Regions from separate parts of the Homo sapiens genome. Here regions 1, 2 and 4 are each linked to region 3. The links are contacts of gene promoters, found by promoter capture Hi-C in blood cells and fetal thymus (Javierre and others, 2016). All regions are on one chromosome and are shown on one strand. Each heading gives the region's core, a stretch centred on a gene start or on the middle of the fragment in contact. The rest is flanking DNA. Distances are from core to core; before and after follow the strand shown.

What was found. Contacts are between HindIII fragments. The CHiCAGO score rates a contact against its expected background, and 5 or more counts as called.
Region 1: a contact is called between the fragment with the promoter of SCML1 here and the fragment with the promoter of TXLNG in region 3, in 1 of 17 cell types (total B cells). The highest score is 8.1, in total B cells.
Region 2: a contact is called between a fragment that was not itself captured here and the fragment with the promoter of TXLNG in region 3, in 1 of 17 cell types (naive CD8 T cells). The highest score is 6.8, in naive CD8 T cells.
Region 4: a fragment that was not itself captured here is called in contact with the fragment with the promoter of TXLNG in region 3 in 2 of 17 cell types (activated CD4 T cells and naive CD8 T cells); the score reaches 7.3 in activated CD4 T cells.

The regions. Positions count from the first base shown.
Region 1 is chrX:17,736,242-17,738,941 of GRCh38, reverse strand. SCML1 (Scm polycomb group protein like 1) reads right to left here and starts at 1,449. Exons shown (of 8, transcript NM_001037540.3): 1 at 1,262-1,449. The HindIII fragment of the contact is 866 bases long and covers 1,054-1,919 here.
Region 2 is chrX:15,860,521-15,863,220 of GRCh38, reverse strand. No RefSeq gene overlaps it. Among named protein-coding and RNA genes, the nearest start is that of AP1S2, 7.1 kb to the right of the region's middle. The HindIII fragment of the contact is 408 bases long and covers 1,128-1,535 here.
Region 3 is chrX:16,785,137-16,787,836 of GRCh38, reverse strand. It overlaps TXLNG (taxilin gamma), which reads right to left and starts at 1,371. Exons shown (of 10, transcript NM_018360.3): 1 at 1,248-1,371. The coding sequence starts at 1,349. LOC124905250 (a long non-coding RNA gene) reads left to right here and starts at 1,571. Exons shown (of 2, transcript XR_007068398.1): 1 at 1,571-1,767; 2 at 1,874-2,177. RefSeq lists a silencer at 586-1,025 and enhancers at 1,072-1,804, 1,776-1,975. The HindIII fragment of the contact is 8,203 bases long and covers 1-2,700 here.
Region 4 is chrX:15,840,844-15,843,543 of GRCh38, reverse strand. All of the region lies in intron 4 of AP1S2 (adaptor related protein complex 1 subunit sigma 2), which reads left to right. Among named protein-coding and RNA genes, the nearest start is that of AP1S2, 13 kb to the left of the region's middle. The HindIII fragment of the contact is 4,648 bases long and covers 1-2,700 here.

The DNA of each region.
Region 1 (2,700 bases), core at 200-2,699, 950 kb before region 3:
AAGATTAATTACAGCTTTACAACATTTTCTCAGAGCCCAAGGCTAGATTGTGCAAAATTAATTAATTTCACTTTCAAATCTCAAATCTCGTAAAATGAGTTTACTTAAAATGAAACTCACTTATATTTACCACAGAAATCTAAACTCTTGATAACATAAGAACAAGAGGCCGTCTGATTTTCTAAAAGACTTTTTTTAGACATTAAAGACATTTTCAAAAGTCGTAAATATTCGCTCCGGAGGCGCAAGGCTTTCACCTGCCATTAATTCATCAGATAAGGCACAGCTCACAATGAGGCGCCACTCCCACCGGGACCACTTTGAGGAACACACAGCAAAACGCTCTGTTTGTTTTAAGAACAATCACTTTCTAAACCTTCCTGCGGGACTCTCAAAGGCAGCCCTTCCTTTGCCGCCAGAACCGCATCCCATCGCCCAGCACTTGCCGCAGGCCGGACAAGTGAGGCCCAAAAGGGCACCCAGCCCACGCCCCGCTTTAGAAAACACCGCGCGGCAAAGCTGCTTGGAAAATCGCTATCTTTTAGTCAACCTGAAGCCAGTTTGCCGCACTCGGGGAGAGCCGGGGAGAGGAGGGAGGGACGCGATCCGCCACCAACCAAATCAGGGCCTTTCCTGTTAACGACCACGCGGCAAGGGGGCCGGGCCCTCGCACGCCTCGACGGCCTCCCCCACTCCAAAGGGACTCCGATTTCGCAGGATCTCCCGCCTCCCGCCTCTGCTCCCAACACCCTACGTTTTTCTCTTCCTCCTCATTTACGTATTTACAATAAAACAGCGAAGCTGCACAGTCTGTCTCTAAATCAAACGCGGTTACCATCAAAGCCTCAGACTCTATGTCTCAACCGCAAAAGGTCTGACAGGAAATCAACTCGGGAGTTTGTCAATTCTTTAAACTCAAAGCTCTGTTAACGAAATCTGGATCCTTCCTCGCTCCCCACCTGCCTCCCCTGACAGGAGAATGACTGTAAAAGGATCCTGTCGTCCCCGAAAGTCAGCACCAAGCACTTCACAAATTGTCAAATCTCAAAAGCTTACACGCGCGGGCACTCCGGAAAGGCTGTGGGGACCACCCAAAGCACCCCCCTCCACACCGCGGCTGAAATTGGAGGCTGCGAAGTCAAGACTCGCTCTTCCCCGCAAAGCAAACCCTCTCTCCTCAGGAGAGCCCCGGCCCCTAAGCCAAATCGTGTATTCCCGTGACGGAAAGTTCAAGGTGAGGAAAAAGTACGACTGGACAGACCTATTTTAGTGACAGAGCCTGTCACGCCGGCCTCCGGAGGTCGCGGTAAAACTGCTCGCAGTAGTCCTGCCTCTCCGATGGGCGACAGCTGTGACCGTTAGGCCACTCGACGCTTCGGAAAGGTCCTGGCACCGGAAACCGGGCCTGGTCACGCGCACGCGAGACCAGTGATGCCCTGACCCCTGAGTGGATCAGAGAGCTCCCGCGACGCCGAATTCCCACACTCGCGGTTGGGGGGGGGGGGGGGGGGGGGGGGGGCGGGACTACCCGCTGACCAATCGGAGTCTGGCCACTGACAGGCGTCACCGTTGATCGGCCAATCCGCGGGTGCTCTCCCAGTCCTTGGGTGAGGGCGGGAATTTGCTAAGGAGATGGCTGTGGGGCGGGGCCGAGGGCGGGAATTTGCTGAGGAGATAGCTGTGGGGCGGGGCCGAGGGCGGGAATTTGCTGAGGAGATGGCTGTGGGGCGGGGCCTCTTACCTCAGGTTTTCCTTCGCAAGACCCGCAGGATTGAAAATGGACGTTAGGCCTTTCAGAGACTCGCGCGCTGAGTGGTTTCTGCGGCTGCGCAGGAGGCTGGCGCGCATGCGCAACCCTTCTAGTGGCGTTGTAGTTAGGGACGTGGTGTCCCCCCTTCGTTGTTGGGGTGTCCGAAGCTTTTTTTTTTTTTTAATGTGATCCCGCCCCTCCCCCGCGCTCTGTGACGCACCAGAGACGTCGTCGTAAACTGGGTTTCCTGGACGCACGCCAGTGATTGACTTGGAATGAGGAGAGGGGCGGGGCCTTAGCAGTTGCCCTGAGCCAGGTCTGGTAGGAAGGGCGAGGGGGGCCAGGGTGGGGGGCGGGCAAGATATTTCCAGTCTCCAGCACCCACAAGTTGGACTGGGGAACTAACGCAGACCTTGAAGGCAGATTTACTGGATTGGACCCCCAGCTCCAACACAGTCCTCCTATGGCCTTAGGCAAGCCAAGTAACCGCTTTGTGCTTCGGTTTCCCCATCTGTAAAATGGGTATAATATGGGGACTACATGAGTTAATGTATGCAAAGCACTTAGAACAGTACCTGGCATAGAATTTTGCTATTGTAATAAAGGCTATGTGACATCATCTAGTGGCATATAGTCTTACATACTTATATCGAGGCTGCTCATCTTGGGAAGGAGACACAGTCTGAGTAATTATCAGAAGCAAAGCAGGCAGATATTTCAAAGTAAAGCTATACATCTTTTCTTGGCCCAGAGAGGAGCTACAAAGAAAGTATACTGGACGTTGGAAATGTATCATTTTTCCTCTCAAATACGAAGCTAGATTAAAGCCCATTATAGATATAGTATATGTTTTTTTTTTGTTTTTGTTTTTGTTTGAGACGGAGTTTTGCTCTTGTTGCCCAGGCTGGAGTGTAGCGGTGTGATCTCGGCTCACTGCAACCTCTGCCTCC
Region 2 (2,700 bases), core at 82-2,581, 920 kb after region 3:
AGCATGTGGCCATGTGCAGAAAGAACCATAATGGAATCAGGTGGAGAGAATGAGCTGAGATATAAAGTCCAGTTTGTTAGTCTGACCTAGTGCAATATTAATGGGGATGGAAAGAAGGAGAATACTCCAGAAAAACTGATACACTCAAGAAGTAATGAGACAGGGCCCAATTAAACCTTTTTTTTGGGGGGGGTGGGGAAGGAGTTTCATTCTTGTTGCACAGGCTGGAGTGCAGTGGTGCGGTCTCGGCTCACTGCAACCTCCAACTCCTGGGTTCAAGTGATTCCCCTGCCTCAGCCTCCTGTGTAGCTGAGATTACAAGCATGCAGCATCACGCCTAGCTAATTTTTTGTGTGTGTGTTTTTATAGTAGAGACAGGGTTTCACCATGTTGGCCAGGCTGGTCTCGAACTTCTGACCTCAGGTGATCCGCCTGCCTCGGCATCCCAAAGTGCTGGGATTATAGGCGTGAGCCATTGCCCTCAGCCTAAACCTTCTTTTGGCACCACAATTCAACTTAATTAACATTTTAGAGTACTTACTCTATGCAAAGCATTGCATTAGGTTATGCCATAAAGCAGTTATTAAGATATTATCCCAGTTTTGGAGATTGCAAGGATTTCAGTCAGCTAGTAAAGACATAAATACTTTAATACTGGACAGAAAGGCAAAAGGAAGTAGAATTGAAGAGTTTACATTTCAAGGGTAAGGTTTTTCAGTTTATTTATTTATTTGTTTGTTTTTGCCTAAAGATAATGGGCTAGTAGTTTCTGGGCAATAGACAGTGTCCTGTGGTGGCAAGAACATTGCCTGGAGACAGAACATAGGAGTCTTACTTCTCCACTTGCCACTAACTGGTATGATCTTGAACAATTTGCTTAACTTCTCTGGACTTCATTCTTCACTTGTAAAATAAAATTCTTGAATAAAATTACCTTTAAAATTCTATTATCTTATATATGTGTTATATTTAAAATGTGTACAGTATTTCTAAAATTTTTCATCAAATTATCTAATTAAAATGTTCCTGTATTCTAAATAGTGCTTTAGGATAAATATTTTAACTTAGCTTTTTGTATAGTATTTAGAAGACAAGGATATAATAGAGTCAAAAATAAATCTCAAGCTTTGGTTTTTTGATTCTAAGAGGTTGATGATAATACTGTATTCACTTTTGCCAATTAGGGACAGTTTACCCAAATGTGCTTGCCCACCACCCCACTTCACTTCCTCAGCCCTTTCAGCCTTACGATTTTTTAAATTTTGCCTTTTCTATTGCCTAGTATTAATGCTAGGCTTTGTCAGAGGAATGTAAAAAAGAGCCTTAAATCATTCTTTTTGCCCTCTTTGATAGACAAGTAGTTTAAAATTCTGTGCTCAGACTGTTTAACAATTCTTCTCAAATTTCAATGGAAGGGAGACATATAAAAGAGCACAAAAAGCAGGATTAGAATCAAGTATCCACTTGAAAATTCACTTGCTCTTCCCATCACTATGCATGGCTCCTTCTCTTTGTAACTAAGTATGCAACAAGCTTTCAAGAATGAACAGGAATGCTTGCAGCTGTAACAAATGAACCTGGGAAAAAAAATCAGTGGCTTAATACAAAGTTATTTCTCATTCATTTCAAGTACAATAGGAGTGATGATGGTGGTAGTGGTTTGTGTACGTCTCTTCCTTGCAGTCATTCAGGAACTCAGGCTGGCAGGATACCTGGGTGTCATCATCCAAGTGGCAAAAGCAGGTCTGGGGAGGGAAGGAGGGAAGAAGGAAACAGACTTTCCTGTGGGAGCTTTTTATAGGCTAGACCTGTCACTTTTATTCCTATTTCATTGGCCAGATCTCAGCTCCATGGGCACACCTAACTACAGAGGAAGCAGCGGAATGAGGTCTAGCTGTGTGCTAAGGAAGAGAACGGGCAGGTTTTGATTACTACTTAGCGGTCTCTGGTCTCTGCCTTACCCCTGGGACACATTGATTCTGTCTAGCTGTTCCCTCTGGACTTCTTCCTTTCTACCCCATGTCTTTAATTGCTGACAAAGTATTTCAGAGGTGACTCCTACTTGCCATGAGTAGTTGGGAAATATTTTTAAGGTAGTGATTTTCATCAAGTAAGCATCTGACTTTTATGATGCAACCTTCGAGTTTCCCTAAGCACTTCAGTTTCTGCCTTAGAATATTATAGCTGGGAAAACTGGCTAGCCATATGTAGAAAGCTGAAACTGGATCCCTTCCTCACACCTTATACAAAAATTAATTCAAGATGGACTAAAGACTTAAATGTTAGACCTAAACCCATAAAAACCTTAGAAGAAAACCTAGGCAATACCATTCAGGACATAGGCATGGGCAAGGACTTCATGTCTAAAACACCAAAAGCAATGGCAACAAAAGCCAAAATTGACAAATGGGATCTAATTAAACTAAAGAGCTTCTGCATAGCAAAAGAAACTACCATCAGAGTGAACAGGCAACCTACAGAATGGGAGAAAATTTTTGCAATTTACTCATCTGACAAAGGGCTAATATCCAGAATCTAGGAAGAACTCAAACAAATTTACAAGAAAAAAACAAACAACCCCATCAAAAAGTGGGCAAAGGATATGAACAGACACTTCTCAAAAGAAGACATCTATGCAGCCAACAGACACATGAAAAAATGCTCATCATCACTGGCCATCAGAGAAATGCAAATCAAAAC
Region 3 (2,700 bases), core at 122-2,621:
TTATTTCGTAATTTCATACAGGAGTTAAGAGTGTTCAAATACATAATTAAGTAATATTAAATAGCCCTCGGTGATCAAGCAAGATATCCAACAAGTCGAACGTTTCAGTATGTTCACCTGCAAGGAAAAAAAGAGATGGGGTTCCCACCTTCCCAGTCTCAGTCCCCGCAATTATCCATTCCAGGGCCCCGAAAACCCTGTACCCCGTTCGTTGTGCAATCTTTTTCAAACTCCACCCACTGAGCTCCAGAACAAGTGGAATTGTCCCGTTCTGAAAGAGGTCTCAATTTTCCTGTATCTAGGGAGGGACTGAAAACTCCTTGACGTGAGTCAAGTAAGGCAAGGGGAACAGTCCGGCCTGTTTCCCAGATTAAGAAAGACCCAAGGCCAGGGTCGGGAAGGCATTCAAGTTTCCACTCATCAAATTAAAAAAATAATAAATGAAAGAAAAAAAAGAGGGGAAAAAAGAGGAGGGTGGTAAATAGGACTGGGAGGACCAGCTATCATGCGATATCCCAACTCTGCAGGACCGAGGTCCTCCAGCATCGCCTCCCCATCCATCCCCGGCCCCACGTGCAGCCAAGCCCTCGGAGCCCCGGGGTCTAGGTCCCGGGGGCCGAGCGTCCCGCTCGCACCGGCCCTGCGACACTCACCCGCTCGCCTGCCCGCCCGCGCAGTGGCGGGGAGCGCAGGGGGGCGGGGGAAGGGGGGCCAAGCACACCCCGGCTCCCGCGCGGTTATCTTACTGCGCAACAGCCTAGCCTGAGCAGCCCGGGGGCACCCCGCAGCGCGCCCTGCGCACCTGCCCGACGCCAGGAGGGCGAGCCCACGACCCCAGCGAGCCCCCGGACGGCGGCGCTCAGCGCCGGGAGCACGGTGACGGCGGTGACTGGGAGAAGGAACGCCTGGCGCCCGGATCCCCGCGGTGCTGGCCGCACGTGGCTGTCACACCTGGCGCACCCCCGCCTCGCACCCCTTCTCCCTTAGAACCGCGTGCGCCCCCTGCCCTCCCTCCCGGCTTCCCCGCCGCGCGCCGCCAAACCCCAACCGTCGTCCCTTCCCACCCCATCCATCGCGGTCCCACCCCCCCCCACCTGCTCCCACTGTCGTCACCCCCGGGAGGGAAGAAGACCGGATGTTCGTCCCGTGGCTATAGGTAACCAGGGAGAGAGAAGAGGTGGACCCTGAAAAAGGGAGCCCAAACATCCCCCGGGCCCGACAACAACGAGGGCGTCCCCCTGACTGACCTTCTGCCGCGGGCTGCGTCGCCGTCCGCCCCGTCCGGCCTCAGTCGCCTCTTCGGCGCCGCCGCCTCTTCCCCGCGCTGCCTCCTCTACCCGCGTCGCCATGAGGTGACGGCAGCAGCCAAACAAGCGGCCCGACAAGGGGCACAGAATCTCGCAGGGCCTTTCGCCCCGCCCCCGAGCCCCCACGACCAATCGCCGCATGTGAGACTTCCCACGTGACCGGAGGAGGTTGGCCCCCGAGGGGACGGAGCGAGATGGGGATGGGGAGCATTGAATACTGGGCTGGGCTTCAGCAAGACCGAAGGGCAGATAGAGGCCGTGTGAGTCTGCGCGGATCGGGAATGGGACTCGGGAGTGGACTACAAGTCCCAGCAGGGCGTGCGGCCACAGCTCGCAGGCTCGGATCGGGATTGGGACATAAGGCGGCGTTCTGAAAAGGGGAGAGTGCTGCACCCAGTGTGCTTCGTGTGCATCCTAGTGGGACTTGCGGTTTCTGGGGGCGATGTCTGGCTATAGGAAGGTACTCGTTATGATCTTTCGCGGAAAGTTTAGAAATATCCCCGTGTTTGAGAAGGAGCACGATCGGCGACACATTCTTGTGTTTTTGTTTTTGTTGCCGTTCTTAGGAATTGGGCGCGAATGATTTGGGGATAAGGGAAAATACTTCACGACTTTCAAGACGGAAGGTGTATTGGCTCTTAGAATTTGAAGTTTCGTGCTCGGGCACCTGCCCCGAGCCCTGCCCCTCCACCAGAGTTGTTACCACGGTTTACTTGTCCCGAGCTCCCGCGGGATAGGTGCCGCATTCTATTCACCTTGGTTGAACCGCCCCGGCTTCTGCACACTTACTTGGCACTTCATTCATGTTGAATGTATCCTGCTTTCTCCCACCCCATTTACTCGTTTCATTACCTAAATTTTTTCAACAAACTCGGTTTGCTGAACCGAATTTTTTTTTTTATTGATATGATGTTGGGGGGGAGAGGGGAGATTTCCTCAGGAATATTCCCTATTTCCATCTGATGGAACCAGATCTCCAATGGCCGAGCTTCTGAAAGGCACAGACCATCATGAAATCCTGATATATTGTCTTAAATAATTCATTATGAGGCCGGGCGCGGTGGCTCACGCCTGTAATGCCAACACCTTGGGGGACCGAGGCGGGTGGATCACAAGGTCAGGAGTTCCAGACCAGCCTGGCCAACACAGTGAAACTCCGTCTCTACTAAAAATACAAAAATTAGCCGGGCATGGTGGTGGTGGTGGGCTTTTCTTTTTTCTTTGTTTTTGTTTTCCCAAGACGGAGTCTTGCTGTCACCCAAAGCTGGAGTGCAGTGGCACGATCTCAGCTCACTGCAACCTCCGCCTCCCAGGTTCAAGCAATTCTCCTGCCTCAGCCTCCCGAGTAGCTGGGATTGCAGGCACGTGCCACCACGCTGGGCTAATTTTTGTA
Region 4 (2,700 bases), core at 68-2,567, 940 kb after region 3:
CGCTCTTGTTGCCCAGGCTGGAGTGCAATGACACGATCTTGGCTCACTGCAACCTCTGCCTCCCGGGCTCAAGCGATTCTCCTGCCTCAGCCTCCCGAGTAGCTGGGATTACAGGCTTGCACTACCATGCCTGGCTAGTTTTGTACTTTTAGTAGAGACAGGGTTTCACCATGTTGGTCAGGCTGGTCTCGAACTCCTGACCTCAAATGATCCGTCCCCCTTGGCCTCCCAAAGTGCTGGGATTAAAGGTGTAAGCCACTGCACCCAGCTGTGCCTGGATTTTTAAATGCTACTGGGAAATTGCTATGGGCCTTAGAATATGACAGCAATGTTAAGTTTACCTTAGAGCATATATTCAGTATTTAATGTACTAGGGGATAAGAACATTATTGCAGATCCACATTTATTTGTGTGTGTATATGTACATATGTATATATATTCCCCTATGGGAGTATTTTAATAGTTAATATTGTCCTTCTGTTTGAAGTACTATTTTTATGTCTTTTTTTTTTTTTTTTTGAGATGGAGTTTCGCTTATCACCCAGGCTGGAGTGCAGTGGTGCAATTTCGGCTCTCTGCAACCTCCGCTTCCTGTGTTCAAGCAATCCTCCTGCCTCAGCCTCCCAAGTAGCTGGGACTACAGGTGCACACCACCATGCCCAGCTAATTTTTGTATTTTTAGTAAAGACAGGCTTTCACCATGTTGGCCAGGATGGTCTCAAACTCCTGACAGGTGATCCACCCACCTCGGCCTCCCAAAGTGCTGGGATTACAGGCGTAAGCCACCGCATCCAGCCTATTTTTATGTCTTTAATTGGGGAAAGTAAGTGCAAAGAGAAAAGCATAGGATGAGTATGGTTGGTCCCATGTAAAATTTTCCTTACCCCCTTGTAACCTTTGTTTAAAATAAAGAAATGAGTACTGTTAATTACAGTTCCTTGTCTTTAGAAGAAAGCTGTGGTCCTGTTTCTCTTCTATGACTACTTTTACATTGCTTTGTACACAAACGAAACTGAGTACCACATTGAGACATTGTCTATTTAGCAGTCTGAGTGAACCATTTTTCTTAGCCATGTAGGTCTTGGGGAAGCAGTAGGTGGTGGTCCATTCTGAATTTAGAGTGAGAATACATCGTAGGTTAAGGCCATTATGAAGCCAAGCTCAAGTCTGTGTGGAGCAGTAAGGCTTCAGGTTATTCTGTTCTCTTCATCAACATACTCTGAGAAGAAATGCAGGAATGGCAAGATGCATGTTTCCTAAAAATAGATTCATTTATATTTTTGATGCATGATACAAGTTTACATCTGTGGGAGAGTATTTGAATATTATGTTCATAAAATAGCAAGTGGAATAAGAGAAAAAGCACTCCACAAACTGCTGGAAAACTTTTTGTTTTGGATACCATGACAACAAAAATAATTATGATGGTAACTAACGCTTGAGTGCTTGTATGTGAGGCCCTGGGCTCAGCAGTTTGCTTTAAGCATCCTGTGCTAATCCTCAAGACACCCTGTGAAAGGTTAGAGGTAGCCTAATGAGAAAGTGGAATCTCAGTGAGGTTCCATGACTGGTCTGAGGCCACCTGGTTAGCAACTGGCAAAACCAGGATTCTAAACCCAGATCTACTAGGCTTCACAGCTGTGTAAAATCTTAACCACTGTGCACTTCCCCTAACCCCAGTTATGTATTGTCTTGGTATATATATTTTAAACGTTCTGTTTTAGATATGAACTTCTTTGTTTCTCAGTCATATAGTGAGAAATTCATAATTCTCCCAGAGGTTTTTCTGTGTGGAAAAGAGTAGATTTCCTAAGACAGTGCCATCTTTGACTTCTTAGACTGCAAATTTTTATTGTCCAGATTATCAGCAGTTGGAATTTTTTATTGGATATGTAGATATAAATAATATTTTTCAACCTATTTCTTGTTGGATTGATCAAAATGCCTGGATTTATAATAACTTTTTTGGTCTTATAGTTTGGGGTATAGCATTCACTTAATCAATTTCATGAAATGATTTTGCTTCCAAAATTGTAAATATAGCTGTGAAGATCTAAATTCAGACTTACATTTGTAGTAGAAGTCCTAATTGGTCAATTTTAATCTACTTTTTCATGTGTCATTATTTTTCTGTTTAGTGTCAGGTCTTTTACTTGAATTGATTATTTCTAAGCACCAAAGATGACTTTGAACTTATCATGTACTTATCTGTTGGCTTAAAGGTGTATACACATCTCAATGATTTTGATTTTTTTTTAATTTGTGAAATATACATTTCTATCCTTAAGAATGCTTATTTTCTTCAGAAAAATTAAAAAAAAATTTCTCTTACCCAATTTGTATAAACACATAGTTTAAGGTAGTCCTTCATTTTATAGCCAAATAGGGAAGAGGGTCAGTGGATACAGATTTTCTGTTAGCATATTACAGTTAGTAATAAAAATGTAACATTAAATGTACATTCAAATAATAGTTGCTAAAATATTAGCAGATATTGTGATTAGATAATAAAGATATCTTTTTTATTTTACTTCATTACTTGGTAAATAAAGGATTAGTTTTGACATTTCTAGACCAAACTTCATGTTTATTCCTTTTGGTGTTTGGTTGTATGAATACATAATTAGATTTGGGGGTAAAGCCCAGAAATTGGCCCGTTATCCATTTTTTAATGTTTGGCTGTCTTAACATGCCACTGGT